3 separate regions of the Homo sapiens genome follow, and all the other regions are linked to region 1. The links are contacts of gene promoters, found by promoter capture Hi-C in blood cells and fetal thymus (Javierre and others, 2016). All regions are on one chromosome and are shown on one strand. The core of a region is centred on a gene start or on the middle of the fragment in contact, and the rest is flanking DNA. Distances in the headings are between cores, read along the strand shown. Region 1 holds the start of CDK13 (cyclin dependent kinase 13). Region 2 holds the start of STK17A (serine/threonine kinase 17a). Region 3 holds the start of SEPTIN7-DT (SEPTIN7 divergent transcript).

Evidence for each region. The method cuts DNA at HindIII sites, captures the fragments that hold promoters and counts their contacts. A CHiCAGO score of 5 or more calls a contact.
Region 2: the fragment with the promoter of STK17A here is called in contact with the fragment with the promoter of CDK13 in region 1 in 1 of 17 cell types (total B cells); the score reaches 5.2 in total B cells.
Region 3: a contact is called between the fragment with the promoter of SEPTIN7-DT here and the fragment with the promoter of CDK13 in region 1, in 3 of 17 cell types (naive CD8 T cells, total CD4 T cells and fetal thymus). The highest score is 7.0, in naive CD8 T cells.

Annotation. Positions count from the first base shown.
Region 1 is chr7:39,947,510-39,951,505 of GRCh38, forward strand. It overlaps CDK13 (cyclin dependent kinase 13), which reads left to right and starts at 2,747. Exons shown (of 14, transcript NM_003718.5): 1 at 2,747-3,996. The coding sequence starts at 3,133. CDK13-DT (CDK13 divergent transcript) reads right to left here and starts at 1,910. Exons shown (of 1, transcript NR_158201.1): 1 at 12-1,910. RefSeq lists enhancers at 1,196-2,115, 1,615-1,744, 1,815-2,064, 2,116-3,034, 2,535-2,814 and 3 more and silencers at 2,305-2,534, 3,325-3,614, 3,685-3,744. The HindIII fragment of the contact is 3,453 bases long and covers 1,446-3,996 here.
Region 2 is chr7:43,580,361-43,584,453 of GRCh38, forward strand. It overlaps STK17A (serine/threonine kinase 17a), which reads left to right and starts at 2,748. Exons shown (of 7, transcript NM_004760.3): 1 at 2,748-3,089. The coding sequence starts at 2,884. RefSeq lists a silencer at 2,368-3,147 and enhancers at 3,548-3,597, 3,728-3,837. The HindIII fragment of the contact is 5,737 bases long and covers 383-4,093 here.
Region 3 is chr7:35,798,765-35,803,110 of GRCh38, forward strand. It overlaps SEPTIN7-DT (SEPTIN7 divergent transcript), which reads right to left and starts at 1,861. Exons shown (of 5, transcript NR_120512.1): 1 at 1,726-1,861. It overlaps SEPTIN7 (septin 7), which reads left to right and starts at 2,293. Exons shown (of 14, transcript NM_001788.6): 1 at 2,293-2,506. The coding sequence starts at 2,446. RefSeq lists enhancers at 1,525-1,584, 1,707-2,330, 1,945-2,334 and silencers at 2,485-2,724, 2,755-3,204. The HindIII fragment of the contact is 5,766 bases long and covers 1-4,346 here.

The DNA.
Region 1 (3,996 bases), core at 1,497-3,996:
ATAGTCGTAAATGGGAATTTCAAATCTCTTTAATATTCAGGCAAGCAGACAGGCTTATAGAAACAGACGGCTTCTAATTCAAAGGTCCTTCCCATTTTTTGGAGTTTGAATCCTATTAGTTATTAGTGTTTCCAACCACGTGGGCAGGTATCTTGAGCTCAAAATGTTCATTCAACCTCCCCCACCAAAGGTAGAATCTTTGAGGAAACGTGGGTGGTAGAACCACAGTAAAAATATTTTAGTACATGTTTTTTGTTTGCACCCTGGATTGGGAACTATCCATTTACTTTTTTTCCCTTCTTCTCCATTTAATACACTTACACATGGGAATTATCCATTTACTATGGATCAAGTTTTCTTTGAAAATATATGATAGAAGATGACATTCTCAAGTGGAACTGGTTGTACACGAGGGGAGCTGCAAGCTAAACCTCTTATTTGCTCTCTTTGTTCTGTTATTCCAGTCTATCTAACGTAGGACGATGGAACAAGTTGATCCTACATGTTTCTGAAAAAGCCACTTGCTAAACAGTCTTTGGTAGGAGGCTGGCTACAGGACCTTCACTCAACAATACTGTCAACCAGAAATTTGTTTTAGGAACCCTGCCCCCTATTTTTCTATTCAGTTTCCCAATGCCCATCCCATGGTGTTGCCCACCCAGGCCTGCCCTCCTGGGAAATGCTCTGACTTTAAGATTACCTATTCCTTTGCCTCCTCCTTTATCCTTCAGCAAACCAACATCCTTTGTACTCGGTCAGTGAAGTCTGATCTTAGCTTAAATCAGGCCAGTCTGTGATACTGTGATGTCAAACTGATTAAAATAATTTACACTAAGGTATTAACGATGGATAGATACCAAGTGTTTAAGAACTAAACCAACTGATGATCTGAACAAATGAATTTTCAAAGGGGTTACTACATTTAGTCATTGAACAGACGGCTTAGCTTTTTCTTTTATTAGAGGCAGGGCCTCGCCCTGCTGATTGGCCAGGCTGGGGTGCTGTGGCACGGTCATGGCTCACTCCAGCCTCGAACTCTTGAGCTCCAGAGATCCTCCTGCCTCAGCCTCCGGAGTAGCTGGGACTACAGGCGTGTGCCACTGCACAGGGTTAGCTTGCGTTTCCAACCATTCTAAAAGCCAATAAGCCATTTACATTTTAATCTAATTATCCCGAGTGCTTAGTCTGTAACTGAAGGGCAATTCTAAGGCAAGAAATGAGATGTGAGGTCACTATATGGCTATGTTTGGCAACCCCAAAGGTTTAGATATGAAGGTGAAAGTGGGTGAAGTACTAAGAGGGCAGTCCTCATTCGCACAAGATGTTTTTATTTCAAGCCTCCTGAGAATTTGGAATTTTCAGTAGTTCCTTTTAACATTCCACTTATTTCCTGTATTGATTTAAAGCTTTAAAAATTTTTATTTTAAAGTAAATAGTGTTACCGAAGCTTGAGCTGTGATTCCCAAGTGTGTTTTTTAGGATAAGAAGGGGCCTCGCGGAAGTTGCGGTGAGCCGAGATCGCACCATTGCACTCCAGCCTGGGCAACGAGAGCGAAACTCAGTCTCAAAAAAAAAAAAAAAAAAAATGGGGCCTCGAACTTTGGCGTACGTGAGACAAGTTAAACCAACGCCATCTCCACCCTGTTTTGCGGGGTGTTTTCTCTCCTTTCGCAGCTGTTCCACTCCCAGGGCTTGACTGAAGGTACACGGGGGGTAACTGCCTACTCCAGAAGGCCACCAACAGCATTATTTCCCTCGCAGTCTCCAGAAACACTTGTTCTCACTGTGACCTTTCGCTCAACAGGCAGGCAGTGCGGCGTCTGCAGAGCCGGAACCGGCACTGCGCGCTGGACGCAAGCAACAAGCACGACAGGCGCGCCACCACGGGCAGAGTCTCAAGCAACAGCAGTGGGCGGCACACGAATCCTCTCCTTTCTTTAACCCTTCTTCACACGGAGTCCCACCCTCGCCGGAAGCCGAGCGGTTTCTACATCATGCCACTTCCGGTGCGGCCTGCCGGCCCCTGGCGGGAGCGAGCACGCCAGTGCGCGGTAACTTTGTTCCCGCCTCTCTTGCCCCGGCCACCTCTCATCTTCGGCTTTCTCTGAGCGTGAATTGCGGGCGCGCTCCCGGTCGTACGTCAGGGCTGAGGGGAAAAGCCGAAAGAGCGAGGCGAGAAGGAGGGGTTGTGGAGGTTAGGGCCCAACCAGCAAGTCCCGTTGCTCTCCCTCCTCCTGACGAGGAGCGGAGAGGGAAGGGGAGGAGCGAGCCGGGGCAGGCCGCGCACACCAGGAGCCTCCTCGTGGAGGGGGGGAGCGGAGGAAAGGGGTAGCTCCGCCACCTCTGCTGGCGGCGGCGGCGGCGGCGAAAGAAGAAGAAAGTCAGGGCCCGTACCTACCGCCACAGACTCAGAAACGCCCCTGCCCCCATCTCCCCGGAAATAGCCCCCCGCCCAGCCCCGCACAGTCGCTGCCCCAACCGAGAGCCGCAGCCCGGTCGCCCCCGCCTCGCCCCGCCCCGCTGCCCAGCCCCGCGGGCCGCAGAGTGCGCGAGGCCCTAGGCCGGGAGTTGTTGTCAGGCCCAGGCCACTTCCGAGGCGCCTGCGGTGTGTCGCCGCCACCACAGGAGGACGACGTCGACGCCGAGGAGGAGGCGGTGGAGGCGTGTTGTTGTCTCGCCCACTCCCCTCCCCTGAACTTGCACCCAACGTCAGGGCGCGATGGAGTGAAGCGGCGACGAAGGTGGTACTTCCGCGTTGCGCTGCCCGAGCCGAGAGCGCGGCCAAGGCCGCTCCCCCACCCCCGGGGGCACTTGGAGGACTCGGGACTCCCCCGCAGGTCAGCGCCCGGCGCATCTGGTGTTTTCGCTGCCGAGGATAGGACGACGAGCGCAATCGGGAGCTCCGCCGCCCGGATTCCTGCTTCCCTGGGGCCCGGAGGCTGCTGCGTACCCCACTGTGACCTGGAACCCAGGGACCCGAGTCCCGACCCGGATTATCGTGGCGCTTTTCCCGGCCGGCTCTGGTGCTCGGTGTCCCTCCGCCGCCGCTCCCGTTTCCGGCGGGGGAGATGGCCAGGATCTGACCCGGGAGGAGGCCGCACCCGCGCCGCGCTCTGCGGCTGGCTCTAGGCGATGCCGAGCAGCTCGGACACGGCGCTGGGGGGAGGCGGGGGCCTGAGCTGGGCGGAGAAGAAGTTGGAGGAACGCCGCAAGCGGAGGCGATTCCTGTCCCCTCAGCAGCCGCCGCTGCTGTTGCCGCTCCTGCAGCCGCAGCTCCTGCAACCGCCGCCGCCCCCGCCGCCTCTGCTCTTCCTGGCTGCTCCCGGCACGGCCGCCGCCGCAGCCGCCGCCGCCGCGGCCTCCTCCTCTTGCTTCAGCCCGGGCCCCCCTCTGGAGGTCAAGCGGCTGGCGAGAGGCAAGAGGCGCGCAGGAGGGCGGCAGAAGCGGCGTCGCGGGCCCCGCGCCGGGCAGGAGGCGGAGAAGCGTCGGGTCTTCTCGCTGCCCCAGCCGCAGCAGGACGGCGGTGGCGGTGCTAGTAGCGGCGGGGGTGTGACCCCGCTGGTGGAATACGAGGATGTGAGCTCCCAGTCCGAGCAGGGGCTGCTGCTGGGGGGGGCCAGCGCGGCAACGGCGGCGACGGCTGCCGGGGGAACGGGGGGCAGCGGCGGGAGTCCGGCCTCCTCCTCCGGCACCCAGCGGCGCGGGGAGGGGTCGGAGCGCAGGCCCCGCCGGGACCGCCGCAGCAGCAGTGGCCGCAGCAAGGAGCGCCACCGCGAGCACCGGCGGCGGGATGGGCAGCGCGGTGGCAGCGAGGCCTCCAAGTCCCGCAGCCGCCACAGCCACAGCGGCGAGGAACGGGCCGAGGTCGCCAAGAGCGGCAGCAGCAGCAGCAGCGGCGGCCGCCGGAAAAGCGCTTCGGCCACATCCAGCAGCAGTAGCAGCCGCAAGGACCGGGACTCGAAGGCCCACCGCAGCCGGACTAAGTCGTCCAAGGAG
Region 2 (4,093 bases), core at 1,498-3,997, 3.6 Mb after region 1:
TTAATTCTACATATATTTAAACTTCACATGACGTTATTTTTATTGTTTTATATAAATTGTGTTTATTTATATCTATCCATATATATATATGTATTTATATCTATCCATATATAAAAGGATTGATTGCTCTTCATTCCTTTAGATGTCTCCATGATTTCATTTGGGATTATATTCCATCTGCCTGAAAAACTCCTTTTGGAATTTCCTTTAATGTAAATCAGCTGATGATCTTAGTGTTTCTTGGTTATAAAACTGGCTGTATTTTATTTTCAATTTTGAAGATCATTTTTACTGGGTATATAATATAGGTTGATAGGTAATTTCTCCTAGCGCTTTGAAAACATTTGAAGGTGTTTAGGCTTCCATTGGTTCTTTGAGAATAAGCTTTTAATTTTATTGTTGCTCATTTGCAGATTATATCTCTGTTTTCTTTGCTGATTTTAAACCTTTTCTTTTTGATTTTGTTTCTCAGTAGTTTACAATGTGCCTAGACATGGTTTTCTTTGCTTGAAATCCTGCTCTATGTTCATAATGTTTCTTGACTCTGAGAATTGTTGTTCATTAGTTTTAAAAAATTTCCAGCCGTTATCTTTTCAAATACTGCTTCTTTTCCTTTTTTCTCTCACCTCTCTTCCTGATATTCCAATTACGTGTGTGTTAGAATGTTTTACCACATATCACATGTGTCATAGTCTCCTTTCTGAGACCTTATCTCTTTTATAGAAAGTTCTTTCATATCTCTTGTATGTCATTTTTCATATTTTGTTTTGCTTATTAGCTTCACTAATTCTTGCTTAAGTTGTATCTCATCTGTTATTAAGCCCATAATTCTGTAGTAGTTTTAGTTAGTGTGTTTTTTTCTCCAATTCCAAAATTCCATTGTATTCTTCTTTGGAGTTTCCAGTTCTCTGCTGAAAACTCTTTATCTTGCAATTTAATTTCTTGAAGATATTTAACAGAATTATTTTAAAATCTGTCTTTAAACTTTAATATCTGGATCTTCTGTGTGTTTATTTCTGTTTTCTTTTTCCCTTAGTTTTTAAGACAATTCTGTGTCCTTTGTTTAAATTAAGTTTCAGACATGGTGTATAAAATATTATATGGGTAATGTGTTGCTCTGAATGATGCTTTTTTTCCCCAGAGAGAATATTTACTGTTGCCATTTGAAGCTGGTTTTCAGCCCTTGGGTCTATTTCCCGTTCATCCACACCCCTAGGGTATAGCTCTTCGGAGTCCCAGCTGAAAGCCTAGTTGCTTACCAGCCCCTCATCATAAATAGGTCCTAAACTCCAATTTTTTTTTTGTCTCCCCAACCCCATGAGATGACTGAAAGCTCTGCTTACTTTCTCACTCTTTCAGCCATGGCTTTAAAATCATCAAATACCTCATGGGAAAAGTGGTGGCTTTCTGAGCTGCCTATCTTTCCAGGATTTCAGTCATCCAAGTCCTTGCTGGGAGAGGAAATTTTTAACTTTTGTCAACTTTTCTATTTTTTCTTAGTGAGAATATTGAACACAAATAAACTAGTATATCAGTGCCAGAAGCAAAACTCCACTGAGACAGTCTGAGTAGAGCAGTGGTGTGATTTGGTTTCGATTTTTAAAAGATCACTCTCATTGCCTTGAAAATGAACTATGCGACATTAGGGAGAAAGAAGGATGGAAGCAGGTGGTCCAGTTAGTAAACTATCACAATAATCCAGGTAAGAGATAACGATGGCTCAGGCCATGGTGGTAAGGTGGAAATAGAGAGAAGTGATCAAACGCCGCATCTAGTTTGAAGGAAAAGACAAGAGGGTTTACTGACAAACTGGAGATGAGCATGAGAGAGGAATCAATGCTCATCCCAAGATTTTTGGCCTGAACAGCTAGAAGGAAGGAGATGAAGAAAACTGAGACGGGGAAAGCTGGGTAGGAGTGCATTCATGAAGACCAATCAGCAACTTACTTTTGTGTATGTTAAGTCTGAGATGCTAATTTGACATGTAAGTGGAGATGCCAAATGCATAGTCAAATACACCAGTCTGAAGTTCAGGGAATATTTGGAAGCTAGAGATACAAATTCTGTAGTCATGAGCATATAGATGGTAATTAAAGTCGTAAGACCGGATGAGAGGACCTCGAAAGTAAATATAGAGACGACTACAGACAATATAATAGTGTCTATTTCATAGGGCCGGTGTGCAGGGTTAATAATATTTATACAACTCTGCCTCCAGACCCCTCTCCCAGTGTACGGAGATCAGGATCTCATCACCCCTCCCCACCACGTGAAGTCCTGCTTACAGCTCAAATGCCTTTTATTAACCGAAGTGCCTCCAGACCCCTCCCCTCCTCACCACGTGAAGTCCCGCTTACAGCTCAAATGCCTTTTATTAACCGAAGGTCAGCTTTTGTGACTCTCAGACGCTCAACAGGTGCGCAACTCTGCTAACGCAGTAGGCTGTCCTGGCCAAAGGGTGGTGCTGTGAGTCGCCTCCAGCCTCCGGGCCGTCCCGAAAGCTGCACCTTCTCCCCCTGAGCTGCAGAGGGCGCGCGTGAGGCATCGGGCGCTCAGGACCCCGCGGGAGCTCAGCGAGGGGGCGGGCGGCCACGGAGTGAGGCCGGGGCGGGGTCGGGCGCGGGGCGGACGTGGGGAGGGGTTGGCCGGGGCCAGAAGCAGGGTGCAGGGCAGGCGCGGGGCGGTCACGGGGGCGGGGCCGGTCGCGGGGCGCGGGGCGGGCCCGAGCTACCGGTAGTCTGCCTGCCGCAGTCCGAGCGCCGCGCTGGGGAGAGCGGGTGTTTGAAGGCTCCGCGGACCGGCACTAGGAGCCGGGGGCGGGTCCGTGACCCTCCGGCTGCTCGGAGTGAACAGGCGGCCAGGAAAGAAGCGGGCCTGAACACCATGATCCCTTTGGAGAAGCCAGGCAGCGGCGGCTCCTCCCCAGGCGCCACCTCAGGCTCGGGCCGGGCAGGCCGGGGTCTGAGCGGGCCGTGCCGGCCGCCGCCGCCGCCCCAGGCCCGCGGGCTGCTGACAGAGATACGCGCCGTGGTGCGCACCGAGCCCTTCCAGGACGGCTACAGCCTGTGCCCGGGCCGGGAGCTGGGCAGGTGAGGACGGGCGGGGCCCGGCGCGGAACCTTCCCGGACGCGCGGGGCGGGACGTGGGCGCCGATAAGTGCCGGCGCCGCGGCGGCGAGGCTGAAGTGGCGTTGCTGCTGCCGATAACGCGCGTTGTGACTTGGCACAAACTTGGGTGCCGACGGCAAGTAGGGCAGCCGAGTCGCACCAGCGCCCCCTCCACGCGCCGCGCCCAGCAAGCGAGTGGTGGTAACTCGATGGCGGTCCCGGAGGCGCGGACACTTTCCTCAGCCCTTTCGTTCTCTGTGGCGTTTCGAATGGCTATTTAACGAGAGAAGGTGCGGGCCGCGCTCTGCCTTTCACCCCGAGCAGCGGGTCTGAAAACCAGAGGTCTGTGGAGCCGACTTTGCATTTTTCCTTCAACTCTTGCGACTTTCTTGGTCTGCCTGTGTGGTTTTAATAAAATACAGCATCCGTTGTGACCGCTTCCTTTGCACCGGCGCTCTGTTACCTTGTGTCGGTCTTCTGCTGAATTCATTTTCGTTTTCTTGGTTGGTTTTCTGCCGTTTTAGTTCTAAAGCATTTAGGTCCCTTTGCTTCGAGTTTAGATTGGTTTCTTTCGTGGGCGCTTGGCCCTTTTCTCGCTTTTTACTTTGCTGGGAACCGATTCTTGCCTTCTCCCCCCACCCCACGCTAGCCCACCCTTTTTTTGTGGGAGTAGAGAGAGCTTACAACTTGGTCTGTAAAGTTGCAGGTGCAGGCTGTTCGGATGCTTTACATTTTGTATGCTGAAGAGGGGTGATCGAGTGATTTTTGTGGGGTTTGGCGACTCTTCCTTGAGAACAGTTTGAAGAAGTTGTTAAATACTCTGGCTTTGGGGGCAGACCTGAGTTCATATTCGTGCCCTTCTTGCTGTGTTTGCCTTTGGAGGGGTTAGACTCTCCAGCCTCACTTTCCTCATCCGTAAAATCGTATAATGATGACAGTACCTACCTCAGAGGTGGCCTGAAGATGCCATGCTTGTCAAGCGCATA
Region 3 (4,346 bases), core at 611-3,110, 4.1 Mb before region 1:
TTCAATGAAAAGTAGTGAAGCTATCATAGTGTGGGGTGAACATGAACAAACTTCAGACAAGGAATTTAATATAGTTTCTATTAAGAATTTATCCATTTTCATAGCACAAAATAACACAATTCACCTCTTTCATACCCATTAAGAGATCTTCCTCAAAGAAATATTATCAATAGAGATGGGAGGCAAAGATTTACTTCCTTTAGACTATTAGGTTATATTAATATAAGTATTTGCTTTAATTTTATATTTTAAAATAATCTATATTTAGGTAATATTTACTAAGCATTGACTAAGCACCGTGTTCATGTATTAGTCTATTTAACTCTTATCAAAATCCTGTTAGATAAGTATTATCTCCGTTTATAGATGAGGAAACTGGATCACAGGAAAGTTTAAGTAACTTGTTCTTGGTTGCAAGCCTAATAAATGGAGAGCTGGGATTTGAACTCAGGCAGTCTGACTCCGGAGGCTATATACATTTACCCTCCTTGGTACACTGCTTTTTTTCAAAAATAGAAATTCAACAAAATTTCCCAAAGTAAAAGTTCATTTGAAGTTTCAGAAACTTAAAACAATGATTGAACAGATAAGTTGCAACAGACTTCATAAGCAGTTCAGTAAAAATGTAGACTTACGAAATGGCATATATCAAGATACAAAATAAGTTGCTTCTATAAGTTTCTTTTCTTAAAAAAAATTACTTGGAAATATTTCAAGTATATAGAACAGTAAAGGAAATAATTACAAGTGAACACCCATGTGCCCTCTACTTAGCTTAATGTTTTGCCACATTTTCAAGATATTTCTGGTAGAAAACAAACGTTATAGATACAAATGAACCCTTCTTGTTACATTCCCTTCTGTTCATCTCTGGAAGCAACCAGTATTCTGAATTTGGTATCTATCATTTCCTTATACAATTTTTAGTTTGATCTTACTTTTTTGTAATTATTAAACTTTTATTTATGGTATGTCATATATATCTTTCCGCAACCTGTCTTTTCATTTCTTCCTCAATATTAGGTTAATGACTCTATCCATATGAAAAATGGTAGCTTTAGTTCACTGATTTTTTGGTTCGTGTTGTATGTCAATTTGTTCAACAATGACACTTATTCATCCATTCTCCTATTAGTAGACATTTATTGTTTCACTAATATAAGCTATTTTGCTCTGAACTTTCTTGCACGTGCCTATAACTTAAAAATACACATACTTTTTTAAAACATGCAGTTAAACAGGAACATACACATTTCTTTAACATGTAGTTAAACAGGAAAAGTAACACATGTGCATGAAGAATACAACCAAGAGAGCCATCACGTTCAAGAAAAGACCACAGGTTATTCCGAGTGAAGTAAGGCTTTCACTAGAAGGCACTTGGGGAACGTTCCAATGACAGCGACATTCATCGCTACAGTAGAAACTCACACAATCGCAGCCCTTTATTAGTATTTTGTTACCCAGTAGTTCCTGTGTCCATTCATTTCCTCAACTGGAGTGTGAGCTCCAAGAGGACCGAACCGGGCACCGACAAGGTGAGCCAATATGAATGTGGCGAGTCCGCAATGGGGGCTACAGCGGCCGACCTCTGGGGCTGTGCCAGGCCACTAGAGTGTGATGGCGCGAGGGAAGGGTCGGGGAAACAGGGCCTAACCTCACTTTTCACCCCGAAAGTCAAGATAGCCACGGAAACAGGGATGAATGGGGAGCACAGACACCTGCCTCGAAGTGTCTCTTCACTTTCACTCACAAAGCCGTCGGGTCAGTAACCAGAAGCCGAGGGGCGGATGCGGCCCCCGCCCTGTGGCACTTTCTCAGTCTGGTTCTTCCAGCCGCGCCTCTTTGCCTTACGCCAATTCCGTAAGGAGGCGCTGAGGCCAACTGGCCGGCTCCCGCAGCTCCAAAACTTGACGTGAAATTGCGCGGGGCAGAGCTGACTGCGGCCATCTTTAATTCGGGCAAGACCCCACCCTCGCACCCCACCCACTAGTCCTTTTCAGCGTTCCCAGGATTTTCTCCAACAAATGTAACGCGGTTAACCTTAGAAGCAGTGTTGAAGAAACACGCAAAGAGGCCTGAGTATCCATGACCTCAGTGGTGCGAAACCCGGCCAACTTAAACATGGCGGCTAAACCCGAACAGCAAAACGTTGCTGACGCCAATGAAGTCATGCTCGAAATGGAGCGAGGCGGCGGAGCTGGGGAGGCGGTAATCTCGCGAGATGGAAGCCAGCCTCCGCTAGGCCCGGAAGCCTCGTCTGAGGGGGCGGGGGACGGAGGAGGGAGCGGGAGTCGAGCGAGAGCCTGTGGAGGAGTCCGCCTGCTGTAGCGTGCGTAAGCAAGGCAGCTACGCCGGGCGGCTACGCTGCGGAATCGGCGTAGGCGCCTTTGGAGAATCGGCGGGCTGCGCTCCGCTGGGGCTGGTCGCGGAGGGGGGGAGGGGATGTCGGTCAGTGCGAGATCCGCTGCTGCTGAGGAGAGGAGCGTCAACAGCAGCACCATGGGTGAGTCTCAGCTTCGGGTGCCGCGACTTGGGGTCAGCGGCTCCGAATGCCGGGAAGCTCTGCGGCCGCTGGACCGAGCTAGGGAACGCCCTGAGGCGAGGCGGAGGCAGCGGCGAGGGGAGCCGGGATGGGGGCCACTGCGGGCCCGGGGCGCGGCAGCGGCGGGCTCGGGGGGAGGGGAGGCGGCGGCGGTGACAGTTTGAATTGAACGTGAGGAGAGCCGAGGCGGCGGCATTTCCTGTGCCGCGGCGGGCTGGCCCCCGGCGCAGAGCCGCGGCCTCCGCGGCCGGAGCAGCCTGAGCGTGGTGGTCTCAGCCCTGCCCTTGCTTCTCTCCGTCCCTTCGCCTTTCCTCAGTCTCCTCCCGGGCCCGCCGGCTTCCGCGGCCCCGCTTCCTCCTGTCCCCGGCCGCATCCCCGTCGGCAGAAGTCCCCTCGTGGGGCAGTGGGCCTGGCTAGGAGGGTGGGGACGAGTGTGAACGCTCGGGCGAGGGTGCTGTGTGGGCCAACCCGGGCGGGCGGCGGCGGGGAGGGAGGAAGAAGGATGCACCAGGCTGAGGCTGTGGTGGAGGCGGCGGCGGCGGCTGCAGCCGCAGCTCCAGTCACCGCGTCGCCTCCCCGCTCCTCCTCCCGCCTCTCGGGGTTGCCTCTCTCCAGGCGCAGCCCGGAAGGCCGGTGGATGGCGGGCGAGTCTTGAGAACGGAGGGAGAATCGGTAGTTTGGTTTGGAATTTGGGCTTAATTTTTAGGAGTAAGGGAAAGAGAACGCCTGGGAAGGGCGCCCCCCGGAGGAGATAGAAAGGGTGGGAAGGGTCCTTGGAAAAGGGAGGGAGCGGAGATGTGGAGTGGCGAAGTTTAGGGAAATTAATTTTTGAAAATATTTCAATATTCTCAGTTATTCTCTTAACGAGCCCTTTCATTTCCTTTCCTCCCCCACATGTTGGAAAAAGAACAGGCCATTTCATTTACATTTTCCACTCCTGAGTTCCATTTCAGCTGTGTGTATAGTAAGAAATAAGCAACCGAGATTTTTCTAGGACATTTCCATTTGCTGAGTTACTTTTGAAGAGTACACTGTTTCAAATTTGGGTTTTTACAGTCCTAGGAAAGAATTTGTGACGTCCAGGTGTTTTCTTAGTTACTGAAATAATAACTTACTACATTTCTTGAGTTTATTGCTAAATAGTTCAGCTTTAAGAATTCTTTCTTCTGGCTTTTTTATTTTGATGAAAGGAAAAAATATCTTTGTTAGTGCCCCTGAGAATGTAAATGAACAGATCATCTAAATTACTAAGCATCTAACCTGTTTTACATATTTATGCACATGCAGGTGATGAGTATAGTCAGTTTTTCCCCCTAAAGTTTATGTGCAGACATGGGGAGGAGAGTATTTTAGACTTAAAAGTGTACAGGTAGGGATGAAATTTATGGAATCCTGATAGACTGAAGGGGGGATATAAACAATGACCAAGTCAGCTATTGCTGCTTGGATTCTTTATTTCTTCAGACTGCAAGGGAATGAGTAAGGGGTGGTTGGGTGGTGATGGGGGGGTGGTACGGTCGTGGCGGGAGAGCAGTAAACAATCTTTCATCTCATTCAGCTGTTCAGTGGGTGGGACTAAAGGAGATAAGAGTTGAGTGAAGCTATGAAATAAATGTGGAAGCTACATAGGTGATTTGCATGGTAGCATTGTCTTATTCTATGATGGGACAACATGATGGAACCAGGTCTTCATAACACAGTTATTAAAAATACATATTTTACCACATCTTAGGCTTACAGAATTCAAATTCACAACAAATAACAGAAATGTTAAGTTGATTTTAATTAGTTCTTATCCTTT